2 separate regions of the Homo sapiens genome follow, and region 1 is linked to region 2. Evidence: promoter capture Hi-C in human tissues and cell types (Jung and others, 2019). All regions are on one chromosome and are shown on one strand. Each heading gives the region's core, a stretch centred on a gene start or on the middle of the fragment in contact. The rest is flanking DNA. Distances are from core to core; before and after follow the strand shown.

The links. Contacts are between HindIII fragments. The study calls those that stand out against the background at their distance.
Region 1: a contact is called between a fragment that was not itself captured here and the fragment with the promoter of MYO3B in region 2, in 2 of the 25 tissues and cell types used here (H1 embryonic stem cells and mesendoderm cells).

Annotation. Positions count from the first base shown.
Region 1 is chr2:169,973,622-169,980,939 of GRCh38, reverse strand. The region is part of intron 24 of UBR3 (ubiquitin protein ligase E3 component n-recognin 3); the gene reads right to left. Among named protein-coding and RNA genes, the nearest start is that of UBR3, 150 kb to the right of the region's middle. The HindIII fragment of the contact is 5,554 bases long and covers 1-5,543 here.
Region 2 is chr2:170,176,897-170,184,722 of GRCh38, reverse strand. MYO3B (myosin IIIB) reads right to left here and starts at 6,576. Exons shown (of 35, transcript NM_138995.5): 1 at 6,434-6,576. The coding sequence starts at 6,435. RefSeq lists an enhancer at 4,165-4,394. The HindIII fragment of the contact is 10,734 bases long and covers 1-7,826 here.

The sequences.
Region 1 (7,318 bases), core at 1,517-4,016, 200 kb after region 2:
TTTGTTTTTGAGTACCCCTCTACTTTCTGGCCCTATGAGATACACCAGATCCACCCTGCATGTTCCCTGCCCCAGTTCTTAAAAATCAACCATGCCTCCAAGGACCCTAGTTCCTCTTTTCAGCAAGGGAGGAGGGGACTGTATTAGAAACCAAGATCGGGGGGAGGGGGGAGGGGGGAGGGATAGCATTAGGAGATATACCTAATGCTAAATGATGAGTTAATGGGTGCAGCACACCAGCATGGCACATGTATTCGTATGTAACTAACCTGCACTTTGTGCACATGTACCCTAAAACTTAAAGTATAATTAAAAAAAAAAAGAAACCAAGATCTGGGCAATGGGTGTGCTTGTACCTGGGAAATATCCATGAGTACATACTAATATAAATGAACGAACAAATAAACAAGGGAACACAGATAAGTTTCCTTAGCAGAAGAATGCCAAATATTTTATATAGTGCCTTTACCCTCAAGGAGGTGGAATATAACTCCCCATTCCAGTTTCTACTGGGATGTCCTTGCTTCTAGGCCCTTTCAGCTGACAAAAGAAGGGACTACGTGTCTGTACACTAACTCATGCATATGCATATGCCTGTATTTATACATATATAATTCCATCTTTATCTAGAGCTGTCTAAACATGAGTTCATACTAATGTCTCCAACTCTAATCCATTATTATCACATGAATCATTCTAGCCTTCTCCCCTTATCTGTAACTTCTTACTCCAACGGCGAGAAATCCAGCTCTCATCATCTGCCATTCATTTACTTAATTGTTCAACCTCAGTATATACGTATAGTGGTTTCAGAATTGTTAACTCATGATGCCATGGGGAAACTTTTATTCACTGGTTATACACAGTTTCTTTTGCCTTTAGTCTTATTGTTGCTATTTATTTCCAAAGTTAGGTAGCCAGCACCTTTCCCCCTACTCTTTTCAGTGAGGTTGTTTCATACATCACAAGTTCATACATCTGTAATACAGTTATATTCTCCTGTCATAGTCTGCATTCCATCCTGGGATCACCCCAACTCCTAAATGATTTTTTAAAATATACATACTTTAAAGATTCACTCTTTCTGCTATAAAGTTCTAAGGGTTTTAACAGTGTTACATATCGAACTTTACTGTGTCACACAGAATAATTTCAATGCTCTAAAAAAACTCCCATGTTTCATTTATTCACCTGTGCCTCAACCCTGACAACCAGTGATCTATTTACTGTCTCTAGTTTTGCATTTTCCAGAATGTCATATAACTGGAAACACACAGTATGTAATATTTTCAGATTGGCTACTTTCACTAAGCGGTATGTATTTAAGATTCATCCATGTCTTCATGTGGCTTAATAGTTCATTCCTTTTTATTGCTGGACGGTATTTCATTATACGTATGTGCCACAGTTTCTTTATCCATTCATCTATGGAAGGACATCTTAGCTGCTTCCAATTCTGAGCAATTATAAATAAAGTTGCTATAAAAATAAGTATGAAGATTTTTTGTGTGGAAATAAGTTTTTTAATCAGTTAAATAAATATCTAAGAGCACAAGTGATGGATCATATGGTAAGATTAAGCTTAGCTTTACAGGAAAATGCCAGACTCTTCCAAAGCAGCCGTACCATTTTGAATTGCAACCATCAATGAATTAGAGTTCCCACTGCTCTGTATTCTCACAAAAAATTGGTAGTGTCAGATTTCAGGATTTCGCCATAGCCATGTAGTGGTATCTCACTGTTGTTTTACTCTGCATTTCCCTAATGATAATGATGCTGAGCATCTTTTGACATACTTATTTACCATTCTTGCATCTTCTTTGTAAGGTGTCTGTTCAGATCTTCTGCTCATTTTAAAAACTAGGTTATTTGTTTTCTTATTGTTGAATTATTTATATCTTTTGAATACCAGTCCTTTATCAGATGTGTGTTTTGCAAATATTTCCTCTCAGTCTATGGCTTATCATTTCATTCTCTTAACAGTACAATACCTCCTGGGGAACTGATGCCCTGGCTGAGCTACAGAGCCTAGGGCTAGGCCGATATAACACCCCTCATCCCAGGAAAACAGAGCAGTGGCTGAGCTGAGACATTCCTCCATACAGGTCAAACAACTCTAGTAACTTGCTTCCCTGGAGCTAGACTAGCCCCTAGAGTCTGAGCTGCTGAGACACCCTTCTCCATGGGGAGTGGACTCCCTGCTGTGCTGCTCCATAACCCTCAAGGGCCCAAATGACATCTGTATTTGGCCATTCTGACATACTTGCTGACACTGCACCTGGGATCACAGAGTCTGGGATACTGCCAAGCCCCACCATCACAGGGTCTAAGGTAACCACTACACAGTACTACATCCCCAGGGACATGGCTGCTACTAAGCCCTACTGGCTCAGACTCCCAAATAGTGGCTATACCCTGCACCCTGGGCTCAAACCTCAGGAGCACCCTTTCTTCCCCAGAGGCAAGATGTGACCTGTTCCCCCGGGGTAAACAACCCAACTCCCTGAATCCAAGCTGCTAGAAGGTGCCTCAGAGTCACAGATCCTGACTCTGTGGCAACCTAAATCTACCCCTACAACAGAGAGCAAAATGTCACGCCAAGACCCAAGTGCCATAATAGGTTCATGAAACCCAGGCCCCACAGCCCCTCCAAGCACCTGCACCTGGAACCCAGCGCTGCTACTGGTACTCACAGTCCATGAAAGACATGACACCAAGAGGGATCCCCTTGGGTAAGTCTCCCCACTGTGGAGAAAATGAGAATAGGCGGAGCCCAAAAGGCCTTGCCACCAAGGACATTAACAGCCTATGTCACCACTGCTGCTACCACAAACTTCTATAGCCTAGGCCACAGTTATTGCTGATGTTGAACACCACCAGAGAAGCTGCATGGAAGTTATACCACTATACCCACCCAGAAACAGAGTCACCACATCTTTCCCAGCCAGCACACTAAGATTCAACTGCAGGTGAATCATTCTCTACAAAAGCCAATCTAGGAAGTTCAGAAGACACAACAATTCCACAAGATGTACAGATATCAATGCAGTGACATAAGAAACATGAAAAAGCAAGGAAATATGACACGACAAAATGAACTGATGGCTAATACGAGGTGTCAATTTGACTGCATTGAGGGATGCCTAGATGGCTGGTGGAACATTGTTTCTGGGTGTGTCTGTGAGGGTTTTCCAGAGGAGAATGACATGTGAGTCAGTGAATGAAAGAGGAACATCTGCCATCATTGTGGGCGAGCACTATCCAACAGACTGTGGGTAAAGCTAGAACAAAGCAGGCAGAAGGGTGATATTCAGCTTGCTTGGTTTCCTCTCTCTCTCTCCCTCCCAGAGCAGAACACCTTTTCTCCTCCTGCCCTTGGACATTTGACACAGGTTCTTTGGCCTTTGGGCTTTGGGACCTGTAACAAAAGACTCTTGGGGGTTTGCAGGCCTTCAGTCTCAGACCGGGTACTGTACTGTCAGCTTCTCTGGTTTTGAGGGTTTTAGACTTGGAATGAACCATGGTACTAGCTTTTCTCATCCCCCGGCTTGCAGATGGCCGATCATGGGATGTCACCTTTGTAATTATGTAAGCCAATTCTCCCCAGTAAACTCCCTTTCATATATACATATCCTACCATTTCTGTCCCTCTGGAAAAACCTAATATAGATTTTGAACTTCGTATCTCTCTAGTAACAGACCCAAATGAAAAGGAAATCAACAAATTGCCAGGAAAAAAAATTCAAAAGACGAATTTTAAGGAAACTCAATTAGATACAAGAAAATACAGATATATAATTCAATAGAATCAGGAAAATTTCTTATGCATAAGAAATTCAACAAAGAGACAGATATCATGAAAAAGAACCAAACAAAAATCCAAAAGAGTTGAACCAAACAAACAGCTGAATAAATCAAACAAAAAAATACCACAGAAAGCTTCAACAGCAGACTTGATCAAGTAGAAAAAGGAATCTCTGAACGTGAAGATAAGTCATTTAAAATTACTTGAGGGGGAAAAGAATACAAGAGTGAAAAAAGCCTATAAGATTTATGGAACACCATTAAGTGAACAATTAAGAAGAGATAAAAATGGCATAGAAAACCAGTAACACCTGAAAAATTCCCAAGCCTGGGAAGAAATATGGACATCTAGATCCAAGAAGCTCAAAAGTTCTCAAATAGATTAGACTCAAAAAGGTCCTCCCCAAGGCAAACAAAGTCAAATTGTAAAAAGTGAAAGACAGAGACAATTCTAAAAACAGCAAGAGAAAAGCATCAAGTTACATATAAGGGAATCCCCATTAGACTAAGAACAGATTTCTCAGCAAAAACCTTATAGGCCAGTAAAAAATAGATATTTTCAAAGTTCTGAAATTTTGAAAGAAAAGAATTGCCTACCAAAAATACTACACCCAGCAAAGCTATCCTACAGAAATAATGGAGAAATAAAGTCTCTCCTAGACAAGGAGAAACTGAGGGAATTCATCACCACTAGACCAAACTTACAAGAAATGCTCAGGAGAGTCCTGCATGTGGAAACAAAAATGCAATAATCACCATCATGAAAAAATGAAAAAGTATAAAACTCACTGGCAGACCAGATACACATAGTAGAAATAAAAAAAAAAATCAAACATTATCACTACAGAAAATCACTAAAACACAATGATAAACAATAAGAGAGGAAGAAAGGAACAAAGGATACACAACCAGAAAACAATTAACAACAACAAAAAGCCCTCATCTATCAATAATAAACTTGAATGTAAACCAATTAAATTCTCCACTTAAAGCATACACACTGCCTGTATGGATTTAAAAAAAAAAAGTGGCCCAACTATATGCTGCCTACAAGAAATTCACTTTGCCAGTAAAAACACATATAAACTGAAAGTAAAGGAATTAAAAAAAAAATTTCAAGCAAATGAAAAAGAAAAACATGCAGATAAAACAGGCTTTAAGTCCAAAACTGTAAAAAGAGAAAAAAATGGTCATTATATAATGATAAAGAGATCAGTTCAAAAAGAGAATATATATATATATATATATATGTTTTTAATTGCAGATCCAGATATATGCAGATCCAGATAATTGCAGATCCAAAAAGGAATTCTGAATTCCTGTTTGTTTTTTTAGAGACAGAGTCTTGCTGCTCTCTTGCCCAGATACAATCATAGCATACTGCAGTCTTGAACTCCTAGCCTCATGTAATCCTCCCATCTCAGCCTCCTGGGTAGCTGAGACTACAGACACAAGGTACCACACCCAGACAAGAGGATACAACAATTCTAAATACATATGCACTCAATGCCAGAGCACCCAAATACACAAAGCAAATATTAGATATCAAGGAAGAGACAGACTCCAATACAATAATCGTTGGCAACAGCCCACTCTCAGTACTAGACAAATCATCTAAACAGAAAATCAACAAAGAAACACTGAATTTAAACTGCACTTTAAGCCAAATAGACCTAACAGACTTTTACAGAACATTTCAACAAAAGCAGCAGAATACACATTCTTTTCATTAGCACATGGAACATTTTCCAGGATAGATCACGTTAGGCCAAAAAACAAGTCACAACAAACTTAATGGAATTTAAATCAGATCAAGTTTATTTTCTGACCACAATGGAATATAACTGGAAATTAATAACGAGGAACTTTTGAAACTGTACAAATACATGGAAATTAAATAACATGTTCCTGAACAACCAATGGATCAAGGAAGAAATTAAGAGGGAATTTTTGTTGTTGTTTTTTTGAGACAGGGTCTCACTCTGTCATCCAGGCTGGAGTACAGTGGCATGATCTCTGCTTACTGCAACCTCCACCTCCCGGGATCAAGCAATCCTCCCACCTCAGCCTCTCAAGTAGCTGTACTACAGGCATGCACCACCACACCAGGCTAATTTTTGTATTTTGGGGTTTTGCCATGTTGTGCAGGCTGGTTCTGAACTCCTGGACTAAAGCAATCCACCCGCTTGGACTCCCAAAGTGCTGGGATCACAGGCAAGAGCCACCATGCCCAGCCTTAAGAAAGAAATTTAAAAGTTTCTTGAAACAAATGAAAATAGAAACACAACATACCAAAACCTATAGGATACAGCAAAAGTAGAATTAAAAGGAAGTTTATAGCAATAAACACCTACATTGAAAAAGTAGAAAGATTTCAAATAAACAACCTAATAATGTATCTCAAGGAACCAGAAAAGCAAAAATAAACCAAACTTAAAATTAGCAAGAGGAAGGAAATAATAAAGATCAGAGCTGAAATAAATAAAATTGAGAGTTAAAAAATGCAAAAGATCAATGAAACGAAAGGCTGGTTTTGTGAAAAGATAAAATTGACAAACCATTAGCTATACTAACCAAGGAAAAATGAGAAAAGACTCAAAATAAAATCAGAAATGAATAAGAAACATTACAAACGATGCCACGGAAATACAAAGGGTCATTAGAGACTATTATGAACAACTATATGCCAACCAATTGGAAAACCTGAAAGAAATGGATAAATTCCTGGACACATACAACCTACCAAAATTGAACCAAGAAGAAATTAAAAATCTGAACAGATAAATATTGAGTAATGAGATTGAATCAGTAATAAAAAGTCTCCCATCAAAGAAAAGCCCAGGACCACATGACTTCACTGCTAAATTCTGCCAAAATGTTAAAGAACCAGTACCAATTCTTCTCAAACTCTTCCAGAAAAATAAGAAGGGAATTATTCTGAACTCATTCTACAAGGCAAGCATTACCATGATACAAAAACCAGACAAAGACATAACAAAAAAACTATAAGCCAATATCCCTGATGAACACAGATGCAAAAAATCCTTAACACATACTAGAAAGCTAAAAGATCACTCACCATGATCAAATGTGATTTATTCCAAGGATGCAAGAATTGTTAAACATATGCAAATCAATAAACGTGATACATCACAGCAACACAATGAAGGACAAAAATTATACAATCATCTCAAAAGATGCAGAAAAAGCATTTGACAAAATTCAACATCCCTTCATGATAACCCTCAACAAACTAGGTATAGATGGAGGTATGTCAACACAATGATGACTGTATATGACAAGTCCAGAGCTAACATTATACTGAATAAGGAAAAGCTGAAAGCTTTTCCTCCAAGAACTGGAACAAGACAAGGATGCCCACTCTCACCACTCTTTTCCAACACAGAACTGAAAGTCTTAGCCAGAGCATTTAGGCAAGAGAAATAATGGGCATCCAAATGGAAAAGGAGGAAGTCAAATTGTCACTAAGTGCAAATGACTTGACTTTACATAT
Region 2 (7,826 bases), core at 5,327-7,826:
GATTCAGCAATCCCACTGCTAGGTACACCCCAAAGGAAATGTTATCAGTATATTGAAGAACTATCTGCACTCCCATGTTTATTGTAGCACTATTCACAATAGCCAAGATTTGCAAGCAACCTAAGTGTTCATCAGCAGATAAATGGAAAAATAAAATCAGGTTTATATATACAATGGAATATTATTCAGCCATAAAAAGAATGAGATCCTGTCATTTGCAACAACATGGATGAAACTGGAGGTAATTATGTTAGGTGAAATAAGCCAGGCACAAAAAGACAAACTTTGCATGTTCTCACTTACTTGTGAAAGCTAAATATTAAAACAATTGAACTCATGGAGACAGAGTAGAAGGATAGTTACCAGAGGCTGGGAAGGGTAGTGGTGATGGGGAGTAGGGATGGTTAATGGGTACAAAAAAATAGAATGAATATGATCTAGTATTTGATAGCACAAAGGGATGACTACAATCAACACTAATTTATTGTAAATTTAAAAATAACTAAAAGTATAATTAGATTGTAATACAAAGAAATGATAAATACTTGAGGTGATGGATACCCCATTTAACCTGATGTGATTCTTATGCATTATATGCCTGTATCAAAATCTCATGTACCCCAGAAATATATACATCTATTATGTACCCACAAAAACTAAAAATTAAAAATAAACAAACATAAAACCACAGAAAAAAAATCAGCTATTAGAATTTAGCAAAGATAATGCAACATTAGGGAATATATTACTATGATTTTCCCATTAATATATCAAAGTATGAAACACCATTAAAAATGGAAATCCAAAATGAATCTGGTAAGTTTTAATATCTAATTTTTAGAACATTAAAAAATTCAAATGGGTTAATTCCTTTCTAGCATTTAAACAGCACAGAAACATATCTCTCAAACCAAAAGTCAACATCTTAGTTAATAATGGATTTCTACAACCATTGCTAATAAAAATCAAGAAAAAAGACAAGTATCTCTCACAAACACTATAAAATTTTGCATTGTTTTTGAAGTATTAGCCACTGTGATTAGACAAAAAAACATAGAAATAAACACTGGGAAGATGGTGAATATAAAATAAATAGTGGAATGATTTATTCCTGGAAAATCAAAGTTTAACAATGAAAAAAATTAAGTTGATTCATTGAGGAGCTGAGTATAAAATTAGCATCTAGAAATCAAGCAATTTCAAAATATATTTTTCTATATGTTAAAAGTAATCAGCCAGAAAGAAAATAGCATTTTAATAGGAATTAAAGAGAGTAAAATGCCCAAAGCTAAACCTAACGAGAACAGAGCAGAATGTATAAAAGTAAAATCTTAAAATCAATGGATTAAATGAAAAGAGACCAAAAAAATGCAAAACCATATACCTTATGCTTGGATAGAAAACCTTACTGTGAAGATGTCAATTCTTCCTAAATTTAGTCTGAAAGTAAATAATTGTTTTTTTTTGAGACAGAGTCTTGCTCTGTGGCCCAGGCTGGAGTGCAATGGTGTGATCTCAGCTCACTGCAACCTCTGCCTCCCAGGTTCAAGCAATTTTCTTGCCTGAGCCTCCCAAGTAACTGGGATTACAGGTGCATGCCACCACGCCCAGCTAATTTTTTTGTATTTTAGTAGAGACGGGGTTTCACAGTGTTGCCCAGGCTGGTCTTGAACTCCTGAGCTCAGGCAATCCACCCGCCTTGGCCTCCCAAAGTCCTAGATTACAGGCATGAGCCACAGCGCCCAGCCGCTTTGTTTTTTTTTAAGAATTTGACAAAATGATATTAAACTTCATTAGAAAATTAAACACATGAGGGCTGGTCACAGTGGCTCACACCTGTAATCCCAGCACTTTGGGAGGCCAAGGCAGACAGATCACTTGAGGTCAGGAGTTTGACCAGCCAGGCCAACATGGTGAAACCTCGTCTCTACTAAAAACAGAAAACTTAGCCGGGTGTGGTGCAGGTGCCTGTAATCCCAGCTACTCAGGAGGCTGAGGCAGGAGAATAACATAAACCTGGGAGGCGTAGGTTGCAGACAGCTGAGATCACGCCACTGCACTCCACCTTGGGCAATGGAGTGAAACTCAGTCTCAAAAAAAAAAAAAAAGAAACAGAAAAAGAAAAACACATAACATGAAAATTTTAAAAAAGAATAATTAGTGAACATAATTTGACCAGACACTAAAACATGTTATACTGCTAGAGTAATTAAAACATTATGCCACAGGGGTAGAAATAAGTAGTCAGATCGTTAGACTAGAAACCAAAAGTAGACTCAAATACACAAAGAAATAGGGTTTATGATAAAAATCACATTACAAATCAATAGGCAAAAGATGGACTAAATAATACTGTTCAATAAATTATGCTGGCTTAACTTGCTGGCTGTTCAGAAAAAAAGTTAAGCCAGATTGCTACCTCATTCCTTTCTCCAAAATAGAGTATGGTGGCTCAAAATTTTTTAAAAAAATATAGCTAAATACATTATAGTCTTGGTGTAGGCAAGAAATATTTTCAAGTAGAATAGAAAACTCACAAGCCCTAAGAAAAAAATTGATAAACATAATTGCATACAAGTAAAAAGGTCTCTACAACCAAAAGAATTGTTGTAAGTACTAACATTTTTCCAAAAAATAAATAGAAAAGAAGGTTTGTATCAGGAGCTAATTTTCTATCAAGAGTATATACAATAAAAAAGAAAAAGACTCAAAAAATTTAAATGTATAAAAGATGCTAAATCTCACTAGTAAATTTTAAACGGCAAATCAAACTAATGAGATACCATTTGTCTCCTATCACACTGTCAAGATTTTTAGAAGTTTGATAATAGTGTTAAGAGAAATAAGCACTCTGAGACAACATGAGCGAAAGCGTAAACAATCTTTGTGAGGAATTATTAGTCAAAATCTACCAAATGCCCATTCCCTTTGTCTCTGTAATTCTACTGGTAGGCATTTACTTTACATATATAATCAAAAAAAGCACACTTAGATTTATATTAACAGAACATAAAAGAAAAACCATCATCTCGATCGATGCAGAAAAAGCATTCACAAAAAATTCAACATTTATTCAAAATTTAAAAACAACAACAAAAATCTCTCAACAGACTAGAAAGTGAAAGGAACTTCTTCATCTGATACAGGAATCTAGGAAAAACCTGAAGTTAACACCACACTTAATGGTGAAAAACCGAATGCTTTCACCTTAAGATCAGAAGCCAAGGATGTCTGCTCTCATCATTTATATTGAATACTGTGGTGAAGCCAGAATAATAAGTCAAGAAAAAGAAAATTTAAAAATCCAGATTAGAAGGGAAGAAGTAAAATGGGCTTAATTTGAAGATTACATGATTATCTATTTAAAAAACTGATGGAATTTATAAAAACATTACTAGAACTAATTAGTGAGTTTATCAGAATTACAGGATACAAACAAGGTCAATATTTTAAATTCAATTATATTTCTACATACTAGAAAGGAAAACTTTTCAACAGTGCTAAAACAATTGTAGAGCAATATGCAAAAAGAAAAAAAGAATCTTTATCCTTACACCACATATAAAAATTAACTTTAATCATTAAACAGATGTAAGAGCTAAAACTCTATTAAACTTGAAGTAGATAGACATACAAGATTGTTCACTATAGTATTATTTTCAGTAGAAAACCAGATACAACCTAGAGGCCCATCATCATGGAGAGATTATCTAATAAATCATAATAGTTACATAAAATTAAATACAATGTAGCCACAGGTAACCACCAAAAAGAAAAAAGGTAAATTTTCTGCCAATTAATATGGAAAGAATGCCAAATATACAATTAAGATTTGTTTTAAAAGTGTTGAATAGTGTATAGAGAGGACAATTTTTGTGTAAATACAAAGAATATTTGCATTTCTAGTCATTTTATGTGTATATTTGTGTGTATGTCTCTATGTATGTGTATATCCTTATATACATTTTTCCAGAAGGCTACACAGGAAACTCTTAAACTTTAGGGAGAGGTGGTAAAAATCAGAGAGTTTGGAAAAGAGAGAAATTTATATGCTTTTTAAAATTATTACACATTTTTAGTCATGTTTTTTGCTAGTGCATATGTTATTCTACTTTTTAAAATAAATATTTTTTAAAAAAACATATAAGAGATCTCTACAGAGGAGACTATTATGACCCAAATGTGTGCTGAAGTCAGAGGATAGCAGAAACCATATGAAACAGAGGCTCATCCTGAGAAGAAAAAGAAAACAGAGAAATAAGAAACTGAAAGGACCATGCTTGAGAGAGTGAGACAAAGAGGATTAGTGAGTGGGTTCACTGTGAATTCTACATCTTGGCCCTCTGAGGCCTGCTAAGCTTTGCTGTCTGTCCTTGTAACCCATGAAATTTCCTACTGCATTCTTCCAAGCAGCCCCTCTTTTCATGAGCTGATTTGAGTTTCTCGTGAGCTAGTTTTAGTTCCTTAACAACCCCAAATTGGTCTAGTCTGATCCCTTGTTGAATACCCTGAATTAGTCCCTAACGGAGGTACAGCCTTACCTTGTTGAAAGTAAAGCACTCTGCAGCATGCACCCTGTGAATGTCTGCAGTTAGTCAAGCCTAGCGAGCATGATTTAAATAGAAACTTGCCCAGCAACATTTTATACTCATTAGAAAATTCATGATGAAGATTTCCATTGCTCAGTATGCTATTCAGAATATTTTTTCTAGATGTTATAGTATGGTATATATGAATCACAAATCATAGAATGCTTTCAAATCTAGAGAATAGATTTTAGAAAGAAGAAATCGGAAACCTGAACTGTGAAATGTCAGAGGAAATCTGTACAAATATTAAATATAACACCCAGAGATACACAGAATAAGGAAACACATACCATACAAGCGTGAGTAAATTAGAGAATAATTCCAAACCAATACATAAGCAAGTGCATAATAGTTGTGTTAGTCCATTTTCTGCTGCTGTAACAGAATACCACAGACTGCATCATTTATAAACAATAGAAGTTTATTTGGCTCATGGTTCTGGAGGCTGGGAAGTCCAAGATCAAGGGGCCACATCTGGTGAGGGCCTTCTTGCTGCATCATAACATGGTGGAAGGTCTCACATAGTGAGACAGGGCAAGAGAGTGAGAGCTCAAGAGAGAGAAAAAGGAGACTGAACCTATCCTTTTACTAGGAGCCGTCTCCCACAATAACAGCATTAATCCATTCATAAGGGCAGAGCCCTCATGACCTAGTCACCTCTTAAAGGTCCCATTTCTTCTCACAATGGCAATTAAATTTCAACATGATCTTTGGAGGGGACATTCAAACCATAACCATGGTAAAGACGTAAGAGTAGGAACTGGCTTCTTCACAAACCACCTATCTGGATGCTGCTAGATAGGGCCTGTTCAAGTATAGCTCAAATGTCTTCTCTTCTAGGAGGCCTTTCCTAATTTTCCCACTAGAACTGACCTTTATGGTTCCACTGATTATGTACTCTTTTCCTTTCTTTAAATTTTATTTTATTTTAAGTTCCAGGTTACATGTGCAGGACGTGCAGGTTTGTTACACAGATAAACATGTGCTATGGTGGGTTGGCTGCACCTATTAAGCCCCCCATGCATTAGCTATTTATCCTGATGCTCCAGGGGAGACACTCAGGACTGGCATTTGACAGAGCTTGGTAGAGGAATCCAATGATCTCTAGGTTGATCTCTAAGTTCCATCTCTAATGTTCTATGGATTTTAAACCTTGAATATACAAAATTACTGAGAGGAAGAAAAGAATCATGGCATAATGGAATTTATCTACTATTGTTTACATTGTCATGTTACCAAATTAACAAATCTGTCATGATATTGCAGTCACTAAGGAACAATACATACCCACAGCTCTTACAAATGATTAACTAAATGATCAGATTTTTCATTTCCCCACCAAAGCATGAGGAAATTTATCTTAGCTTTAGCTGCCTGAAACCTCTCTTGGGTGAAAAACATTAAAAACATCTGCAAATTACTGATGACTAATGCCCTTCAATTTGGCCTCAAGCTGAGAAATTCTGTGCAGAAATAAAGTGGTTTATAATCCCACAGGTCCATTCTATTATAAACTGCAGGTGGCAAATCAAGTGACTATGAACTATGCTGTGTGTATGTGTGTGTGTGTGTGTGTGTGTGTGTGGTGTGTGTCTGTGTAAAAAGCAATACTCAAGAGGGTGTTTATCCTACTCCTTCAAGAGAAATTTAACCACCCAGACAAAAGGCAAATGCTAACTGAGAGGACCCAGGAATCTGGGTGATGTCAGACAGAGGCCCAAAGCCAGAGTGGCTGTCATCCCCCTCCACTGCCCACCAGCCAGGGCAGCTGCATCTGCCCTTTGCAGAAAAACAATCTAAAGCAAGCACAGAAGAAAGCTGGAAGGAAAATAACTGCAACTCACATCGATGACCTATTTTCTGAATCCGGCTTATGAGAGATTGGATTCTCATTCCTCCAAAAACCAGCAGAACACTTCAGGCCCAGAAAATGGTGTCTTTGATGACTAGAATGTATGACACATCATTACCAAAGGACTTTCGATCTAGGTTCCAAGAGGTGTTAGCCTCAGATGACTATTGTGGGAGGAGCTGATAAATCCACCAAATCCTTGGTGACTTTGCTTCACTATTAGGCAAGATTAAGATGATGCTAATTGGTAGTGAGCCTGATCTATTTAGTGTCTCCTACCAGGACACAGAGCAGAATCAAAACCATTCTCACAGATCCTGTTTGCATGTCATTTAACAGTTCCAATGTGATATTCCCCCAACCTTTTAAAGTTCCTTCATTCCAGATTAAATTCCTTCATTCCAAATGCTGCACAATCAAAACTAATCATCTTTTTGTGAGCAAAGGGCATAATCAAAGCATGTAGTCAGGGTCACTTTTCTGAACTGCAGATAAACCCAGGGGAAACACCATGAGTTTCTGATCTGAATTACCAAGCAATGAAACAGTGACTATTCAACAGTGACTATTCATTCAGTAGCATGCCCTGGGCTATATACAGAACAGTAGGTTAAGAGGAGGCAGGGGGTGGGGGGGTGGTGCTGGGCATGGTGGATCACGCCTGTAATCCCAGTACTTTGGGAGGCCAAGGCTCGTGGATCACCTGAGGTCAGGAGTTCGAGACCAGCCTGGCCAACATGGGGAAACCCCATCTCTACTAAAAATACAAAAATTAGCAGGGTATGGTGGTGTGCGCCTGTAATCCCAGCTACCAGGGATGCTGAGGCAGGAGAATTGTTTGAACCTGGGAAACGGAGGTTGCAGTGAGTAGAGATTCTGCCACTGCACTCCAGGCTGGGCAACAAAGTAAGACTCCATCTCAAAAAAAAAAAAAAAAAAAAAAAAGGGAGAGAGGGGAAGTGAGAAACAGGAGGGTAGGGTCCCCAGAAAGCTTCTTTTCTGGCCAGCTAACATGACACATAGGCCCATGTGAAATAGTTGAAGACTGTGCAATAACACTGGATAAGCTATATCCATCAATTCTGAGGAGGAGTCAGTTCAACCCAGGACCAAGACTTGAGTGGGAATGCTTCCTGGAGCAGATAAATCTAGGTACAGTTTTGAATGAAGAAGTGAAAAGGATTAGTGTAGATGAGGCAGGAGAGAAACCCAGAGCCAAGAAACAGCACACAGAGAATGCAAATATGAAGAAGGTGATTTAAAGGACAGCGATCTTACTCCCGCTAGTCAATAATGGCCTTTGTGTTTCCATTTACTGTCATAAGAATCTTAAGAATGGGGATAATGTGTTCTATCTTCCTATATTTCCTACAGTATTTGCACAT